3 separate regions of the Homo sapiens genome follow, and regions 1 and 2 are each linked to region 3. The links are contacts of gene promoters, found by promoter capture Hi-C in blood cells and fetal thymus (Javierre and others, 2016). All regions are on one chromosome and are shown on one strand. Each heading gives the region's core, a stretch centred on a gene start or on the middle of the fragment in contact. The rest is flanking DNA. Distances are from core to core; before and after follow the strand shown. Region 1 overlaps EIF4EBP2 (eukaryotic translation initiation factor 4E binding protein 2). Region 2 overlaps EIF4EBP2 (eukaryotic translation initiation factor 4E binding protein 2). Region 3 holds the start of TYSND1 (trypsin like peroxisomal matrix peptidase 1).

Evidence for each region. The method cuts DNA at HindIII sites, captures the fragments that hold promoters and counts their contacts. A CHiCAGO score of 5 or more calls a contact.
Region 1: a fragment that was not itself captured here is called in contact with the fragment with the promoter of TYSND1 in region 3 in 9 of 17 cell types (neutrophils, non-activated CD4 T cells, naive CD4 T cells and 6 more); the score reaches 10.8 in neutrophils.
Region 2: a fragment that was not itself captured here is called in contact with the fragment with the promoter of TYSND1 in region 3 in 1 of 17 cell types (neutrophils); the score reaches 5.5 in neutrophils.

What each region holds. Positions count from the first base shown.
Region 1 is chr10:70,407,796-70,410,495 of GRCh38, forward strand. The region is part of intron 1 of EIF4EBP2 (eukaryotic translation initiation factor 4E binding protein 2); the gene reads left to right. Among named protein-coding and RNA genes, the nearest start is that of EIF4EBP2, 5.0 kb to the left of the region's middle. The HindIII fragment of the contact is 7,442 bases long and covers 1-2,700 here.
Region 2 is chr10:70,427,009-70,429,753 of GRCh38, forward strand. It overlaps EIF4EBP2 (eukaryotic translation initiation factor 4E binding protein 2), which reads left to right. Exons shown (of 3, transcript NM_004096.5): 3 at 1-1,610. Among named protein-coding and RNA genes, the nearest start is that of NODAL, 13 kb to the right of the region's middle. The HindIII fragment of the contact is 1,539 bases long and covers 590-2,128 here.
Region 3 is chr10:70,145,291-70,148,069 of GRCh38, forward strand. TYSND1 (trypsin like peroxisomal matrix peptidase 1) reads right to left here and starts at 1,410. Exons shown (of 4, transcript NM_173555.4): 1 at 131-1,410. The coding sequence starts at 1,296. SAR1A (secretion associated Ras related GTPase 1A) reads right to left here. Exons shown (of 7, transcript NM_020150.5): 7 at 1,999-2,779. RefSeq lists silencers at 312-541, 872-1,181 and an enhancer at 672-721. The HindIII fragment of the contact is 18,251 bases long and covers 1-2,779 here.

The DNA of each region.
Region 1 (2,700 bases), core at 97-2,596, 260 kb after region 3:
AGGGGCGGCCGGGCAGAGGCACCCCTCACCTCCCAGATGGGGCGGCTGGCCGGGCGGGGGGCTGACCCCCCACCTCCCTCCCGGATGGGGCGGCTGGCCGGGCAGAGGGGCTCCTCACTTCCCAGTAGGAGCGGCCGGGCAGAGGCGCCCCTCACCTCCTGGACGGGGCGGCTGGCCGGGCGGGGGGCTGACCCCCCCACCTCCCTCCCGGACGGGGCGGCTGGCCGGGCGGGGGGCTGACCCCCCCACCTCCTTCCTGGACGGGGCGGCTGGCCGGGCAGAGGGCTCCTCACTTCCCAGTAGGGGCGGCCGGGCAGAGCGCCCCTCACCTCCCGGACGGGGCGGCTGGCCAGGCGGGGGGCTGACCCCCCCCACCTCCCTCCCGGACGGGGCGGCTGGCCGGGCGGGGGGCTGACCCCCCCACCTCCTTCCTGGACGGGGCGGCTGGCCGGGCACAGGGTCTCCTCACTTCCCAGTAGGGGCGGCCGGGCAGAGGCGCCCCTCACCTCCCGGACGGGGCGGCTTAGCCAGGATGGTCTTAATCTTCTGACCTCGTGATCTGCCCGCCTCGGCCTCCCAAAGTGCTGGGAGTACAGGCGTCAGCCACTGCGCCTGGCTGTAATCAGTGGATTTTTAACATGAGGGCTTATTTAATATCTTTATAAGGACATGGTGCCGTTGCAGTTGGATTTAATCACTATTACAGCAATGAATACTGTTTAGGTGTTCTTTACTTACTGATTTAACTTCCCCCTCTGACGGTTTGTGTATCTCTAATGCTACATTCATCTTCCTCTCATCATGTAATTTTATTTCCCTCAACCAGGGTGCAATAGTTTGTTATCTGGCCACCTCCAGACTCCTGGATTAATATGGTTAGGTATCGTTAGTAAATTTTGTGTGCCCAGGGGAGTGGTTCGCACAAAAGGGGACAACAGACAAAAGTAGGAAATACAGTCCTTGGTCTGAACAGGTTTAAATTCTTGATTTGGGGGTAGGGGCAGACAGATAAGATTTTTAGTTCTGAAAGAGTAGAGTCAAGTGCTAACATATATTTCAGACTTGAAAACATTTAGAAAAATGAGTGATAGGCTTGTATTGGAAATCTCTATTTAGTGGTAAGGGAGGGGATTAACATTTCCTGCCTCAAACTTCTAGAAATCTTCTGGAGGGTCACATACATGTCAGAGCATTCCAGCATAACAACAGTTGATGGACCGAATGCCCTAAATGATCAGACTGAGCAGGGACATTCACAGCATAGCAAACTTAGAGTTTCTCCCCCTTGAAGAGTTCTTTATTCATTGGGGATCACAGGAGATACAGCTTACCCTTGAGCTTTCTCAAAATTGTCTTTCTGTGGTTTGGGAAGTGAGAAGTGGGTGAAAACACACTTGCTGTAACCTCTTGGATTTCTCATATTGCTGGAAGAGTACCCTTTCTCCTTATGAAGGAAGAGGAAACTTTTTGTTGGGCAAATTCCAGGCCAAAAAAAAAGCTCTTGGATTTTATTTTTTTTTCTATCTGCCTGTGGAGGAGTGGGGATGATATTTGGTTCTTCCATTGAGAAGCTACCTCTGCCCTCAAAGGAAGGTAAAGTTACTATAGTTGGCTCCACTTTTAATAACACTAGTGACCTAGAAGAAACCTAATGCTTTCATTTTATTATTGAGAGAAATTGGGACCCAGAGAAGTTAAGTAACTTGTTAGTATTAAACAGCTAATTATTGTCCGTGAGTCCCTCAAATTTAGTATCCTGATCACTATTCCAGTTTTTTCCTCTACTGTTTTGAGATGCTTATCTTACTAGGAAAGGAAGTTTGCAAACATTTAAAGAGACTTTTCTACCTCTGGAATGCTAGCTAATATGATTCTTTCCGCTACCTTATTTCCTTTCTAGGTGCTGAACTGCCCCCTTTTAGAAGAGTTGTTTTGCTCTGCGGAATGAGCAGAAACAGAGACACCTCTTTTACCCTTTCTCTTTGCCTTTCTTTTCCTTCACAGAGTTCTCATCAGCCATGGAAAAGTATGCTGTTACCATAACAAGGGCAGCAGAGGGGAACTAACTGTGATGGTCTGAAATTTTGTCTGGGTTGTAGCTCTTCTGCCTCTTGGATAGTTGATATGATTGGTTCATTGGGACAGAATTTCATAAAGGTCATTGGATGGGTTTGGAAAAAAGGAGAAAGCAGGAAGAAGGGAAAATAATCCACTGGGAGTGAAAGTGAACTATACCAAAATAAAGAGTATTGGGGGTGAAGGGAGCTGCTTTTTTTTTTCTTTCTTTCTTTGAGACAGAGTTTCACTCTTGTTGCCCAGGCTGGAGTGCAATGGCGCCATCTTGGCTCACCGCAACCTCCGCCTCCTGGGTTCAAGTGATTCTCCTGCCTCAGCCTCCTGAGTAGCTGGGATTACGGGCGCCCACCACCACGCGTGGCTGATTTTTGTATTTTTAGTAGAGATGGGGTTTTACCATGTTGGCCAGGCTGGTCTCGAACTCCTGACCTCAAGTGATCCGCCCACCTCGGCCTCCCAGAGTGCTGGGATTGAACCACCATGCCCAGCCCTGTTTCTTTTGTTAAGATAAAAATTGTCTTTGTTGGTTTATTAGCACTTCAGAGATTTGATGGTTGTGCACAGTGAATGTGGTTTGGCCACCACCTGTCTCCCTGAAGAATACAGAGTTAGGCAGCTTTTAGT
Region 2 (2,745 bases), core at 109-2,608, 280 kb after region 3:
TTGAATCTGTTTGCATTTTCCTCATCTAGGATAACAGCTGCTTGAAGCCAGGGCTCTTAGCCCTTTGCATTCCCCTTGAGCGAGGAAGCCACACTGCCTTTCTGTGTCTGGTTCAGAGCTCTTCCTTCTTGGCATGTTTTCTGGACTACATGCACATGGGCAGCTATAGATTAATCTGCAAAACCTAGTCACTTACCTACCCATAATATCTGGGAAGGTGTGGTATTTGTTTTAAAGAAACATTGTTTCTTTGGGAGGGCAGTTTCTGTCTGGACTTTGAGGTGGACTTAGTTATCCCTACAGTTCTTTAACTCTCAGCTTTTAATAAAAGATGAAATCAGATATTGATGCAGTTGGGTCACAATTCTTTAGAATGCTTCTACCCCAGGGCCGCTTCCTGTTCCTAGTCATGGTTTTCCAGTTTAGTAGTGGAGTTTCTTGAGGCTAACTTACAGAAATTTCTAACTGAAAACTTTAAGAGTTATTGATACTTGTTTTTTCAGTCAGTCACTTACATCACCTAGCCTACTCTCTGGAATTTAAATTTATTTCTCTAGGCTGGTCCTGGAAGTTGATAACCTTTTGGCAAAGCTTAGATTTAGGAGAAGGCTTGAGTCCCTGTTCAGCGGGTCTGTGGATTCTCTTTGCTTATGGCTCTCTGCCTGCAGCCCTGGCAGACCATACTGTATGTCATGGATACCCAGTGGAAATATTACTGAGATGAAACACATTTCCAAGGGTATTTAAACTCTCACTCTGCCACCTTTCTAAGGGTGGGAGGCTGGCAGAGATGCTGCAATGCTTGATAATCATTTGGCCACACTGAAATTTCCAAAGGGAGCTCTTGCCGGTGCTTAAAACCAAAACTCCTGGACACTTAGAAAATTCCATGAATCTAGCACAAAATATCCATTCTTGCCCAAGTGTATCCCCTTTCTCTCCAGCTTAATCTTTTTTTTTTTTTTTTTTTTAAAGCCCAGGCCAAGGGTACTTTTAACTGGAAACTGGGGAGGAGGGAAGAACACTAGCAGGGAGCTAAGAGGCAGGTTGCTGGGTAAGCCATCCTGCTCCTACCTGGTGCCTGTATCTACATTGCTGAGTGCTGTGCGCCAGTGCCTTTCCTTCATCTGCAGATGGAGCCCATCTCTTTCCACCTGGGTGAGGAGACCCTCTGCTACTCCAGGGGTAAACCTTAAAGAAGGTGTCTTGAAGAGCCCAGAGGACACTCACGTGCTAAGGTGTCCATTTTATGCATCTTTAAAATATTTTATTTAAAAAAAAAAATAGCCCTGCCCTGTCTTAGTGCCACTAACGGCCCAGTTCCATCCATTCTGAATGGAAAAGCGGAGACTGCCAGCACTTTCCTTGGTCTTCCCTTTGTCTCCCATGATGTGTTGTTCCCTCATCCCTCCCATCCATTTCACTGTGTGTGGATGGATAGCAGAGGGTACCACGCAGTCCTTGAGGCAGTCCTGTGTGATTCCATGATCAGTTGTTTTTGTATTTTAACTATTCTTCCAAACCAGCAGATGTTTGGAAATTAAGGAAAAAATTAAATTCTCATCAATGGTTGCTGTTATAGTTAAATCAGTAAAGATCTTGAGTATCAACTTGGTGTTTTAATTTTTTAAAAATTTCTGGTGAAATCCTGCTAAGGTTATTTCACATTTCAGGAGTTTCAGCTGGTGGGGGAGATGGGCAGAGGTAAGAGGCAGTTGGCTCTTTATCTGTCAGTTCTCCACACTTGCGGAGCATGCACTTTGTCAATGTGGACCTGTGTATGCAAAGGAGATGGTGGGACTCTCAGGGAGCATGACCCTGGTCCTGTGCTCAGGAGCTTGCAGGTGAACATGTATATGCTGGGCTGACGGCACCCAAGCATGTCCTTCTCTTAAGTGCCAGCCCTGAGGAAGCCCAAACAACTTTTCCTTTCTCAGAAGAGGGGCTGCCTGTGCCCCTGGGAGCACTGGTTAGATGCCCATCATGCCTGTTACCTCAAACCAAGCTGTGCTGCATGAGCGTCAGATTCCCTGCTGTTAACTAATCCAGCGGGTTTCATGTATTAGTCCTGAGAATGAGAATTCTTTCACGTGCACAGAGGTCCACAGAATAAAACTGGACTGGAGGAAGCTTTCCCATCGGAACTGTCTAGGGGTTTAGGGCACAGGCTTTGGAGTCAGGCAGCTTCAGTTCCAGCTGTGCTGCTTAGTAGCCAAATTACCCAGCAGAATTCTTATTCTACAAGCCTCAGTTTTCTCTAAAATAAGGTTAAGAAACAACTTTTCTAGGTGGTTGTCAGGCCCAGTTGATGTCATAAAGAGCCCAGTGCCTAGTATACTCAGCTCAGGAAACAGTATTTAAGGGACTCAAGCACAGCCCGGTTGACATGGACACCCAGAGATTATTCAGCCCCCTCTCCTCTTCCCTCCAAGTGTGTAAGTTTAGGAATGGAACAGGTTTGAGCACTGCAGCTACCACCTACTCATGGAACCTATAGAAGGACTAAAGGATCTCTTTAAGGGAAGATGGGACCAAAACCTTAAAAGCGCTTTCCTACATCCTTTACTCTGCCCTAAAGGCAATTAGGATAGGTAAGGATCTTACTGCTAATGAAGACTTTTTTTTTTTTGAGACTGAATCTTGCTCTGTTGCCCAGGCTGGAGTGCAGTGGTGCGACCTCGGCTCACTGTAACCCCCGCTTCCTGGGTTCAAGTGATTCTCCTGCCTCAGCCTCCTGAGTAGCTG
Region 3 (2,779 bases), core at 160-2,659:
CTCTACCCACTACACGCCCAAAGCATCCGCGTGACACAAGAAAGGCCTGCACAATACTCAAGAGTATTAGGGCTGGACCCAGATCTGAGACCTGGAAAGGGATGAAGTGGCGTCAGCCCTGCGGGCTTACTTGGGGGTGGTGGAGCGCACCAGGACCCTGGCTGCTTCCCGAGGGGACACGTGCCGACAGGTCACTACAAGGCGGGGTGCCACAGCCACTCCGGAGCCCCATACGGTGCCGCACTCCACCAACACTGCCGCGGCTGCCCACAGGGGCCCGGAGTCTCGGAGGGGCAGACCCCACGGGACGCCCACCTCTGGCGGCAGAAGGGCGGCCAGGGCAGCGGTGCTGTGCGGCAGGCGGTGAAGCGCGTCGCGGGCGGCGCGGAAAAGGGGGGCGGCGGCGCAGAGCAGCGTGAAGCCCACCCATTCGCCGGCCTTCCAACAGAGCGGCGCCACCACCAGCGCCACCAGCGCCCCCGCGGGCCGCGCGGTGAACACGCCGCCGCCCTCGGTGCCGGGCAGGCAGCGTGCGTCGGTAAGCAGCAGTGGGCCGGCCACGTTGCTGAGCACCCCGCAGCTCAGCGTGTTGAGAAAGATGTCGGGGCAGAAGGCGCCGAAAGGGGAGCCGCAGACCAGCAATGGCGCACCCTTGGGCACGGCCCCGAGAGGCGACACCGCCATGGCTGGCCCGCGCTCCTCCTCCACCTCCTCCTGGCCTAGCCGCACGCCCAGCAGCGCAAACCAGCCCAGCGCTCTCAGTTGATCCGCCTCCTCGTCCTCCGACACTTCGTCATCCCGCGCCGCGCTCGAGAAGCGCCACTGTTCCGCTGCCTCGTCCCCGAAGAGGCGCGCGAAGTGGGCCCAGAAGGCCGGGCAGCTCAGCAGCAGCAGCAGCTCAGCAGGAAGCCGGGGCTGCAGGGGACGCCCGCGGGACGGGGCAGGTGGGCCGGGCTCGAGGCTCGCGCACTGGGGCGTGCACAGCCCTGGGCGGCCCCGCTCCGCGCCGCCCCCGGGACCCGCGGCCGTTGGGGCCCACTGCACGTGCAGGCGCAGGTCGTCCCTGCAACTGTCGCCAGGCAGGAAGACGGCGCCGGCCGCGGTCAGGACTTCGCTGCCAGCTCGCAGGAAGGGGACGAAGATGCCCCCGTGGCAAAGCACCAGGCCCGGGCTACGGCTCAGGATTACCCCGCTGCAGCTCCACGGGCCCGCCTCGGGCTGTCCGGCCCGGGAGGCGCTCACCATGCAGCCCGCCTGCTCGGCCGCCCTCATGGCAGACCCCCACTGCCTTCTCATGGCCTCTAGGCCGGACACTCGGGAGCTTCTCCGAGAAACAGCAAGCTAGCGAGCGAGGACCCCTACCCGGTCCGGCTGAAGCTGCCTAGCGCCACCCACAGCTGGAAGCGAGAGGCGCAAGCTCTGACTCACGTCTTCCTCATCGAGCCCGATTGGCTAAGCCCCAATTGACCCGACCCGATTGGCTGGGCTTGTACCGAGCTCTGATTGGCTTCCTATTCTGATTTTTTTTTTCCTTTCCCCGCCCTCGTTAGTTTGTCCAACCGGTGGGACATAATCTGCCCCATTCCCCCGGATGAGCCCCGGGGAGAGTAAGAGGAGTGCGGCGTCACGAGGAATCAGAGGAGAGGAGGGTGGGTCCCTTCAAGCCTAGTCTCGTTTGCTGGAATGTGGGAAAGGGAATAGAAATGAGCGCTGACGTGCCTAGATTTGCCCAGGCCACGACAGTACCTGTGAGCATCTGCCCAGGTCTAGGCGACCTTCAGCCTCTGACCCTTGGGATAATATGGACCAAGGAAATCCTTGGCCAATTCAGTGTTTTGAAAATTTAAAAGTAAACCCTATAGCAATCCACTAGGGGGCATGGAACTCTCAAGATTACTCCTAGGATTTTTTTTTGCTGCCAAAGCCCCAACACAAATCTCCGAGAAACTGGATTTGCTGTAAATTAAATTGCCCTTTAAATCGACTATGAACAGTAGCTGAAATCAAAAATTTTAATCATACAGGCCTATATTTTACAGTGTGCACATTTCACATAACATAACCACCAGCCAGGATTTATCTAGGCCAGGGTCCAAATACTTTCTGTAGAAGGCCAGAATGGAAACAGTTCCAGTTTGGGGGGACCATACAACTTGTCTCAAATAGTCAACTCTGCAGCTGTTGCATACAAAAGCTAAAGGAATGGCGGTGGCTGTGTCCCAATAAAAAGATACAGACATTGAAATTTTAATTTCATACAATTTTTTGTGTCCAAAAATAGCATTCTTTAAATATTTTTTCCAACCATTTAAATATGTAAAAACCTTTCTTTGCTCACAGGCCATACAAACACAGGCAGCAGGCCCGATTTGACCCACAAGGCATAGTTTACCATCTCTAGTGTACACTAACATAAACTGCTCTACTTTTCCAAAGAAGTACGCTTTAGGACAGAGGAGGATGAACGAGTATGTCGGGGAGTGGGGGGGCGCGGAGCTTCATGATACCCTCAATCAGTCACCACAAGCTAGACAGTTTACAAAGGTCTGCTTTATCACTGAATTGATAAAATACACATTATTTTTTATTTATTTATTTATTTTTTTGAGACGGAGTCTCGCTCTGTCGCCCAGGCTGGAGTGCAATGGTGCGATCTCCGCTCACTGCAAACTCCGCCTCCTGGGTTCACGCTATTCTCCTGCCTCAGCCTCCCCAGTCGCTGGGACTACAGGCGCCTGCCACCACGCCCAGCTAATTTTTTGTATTTTTAGTAGAGACG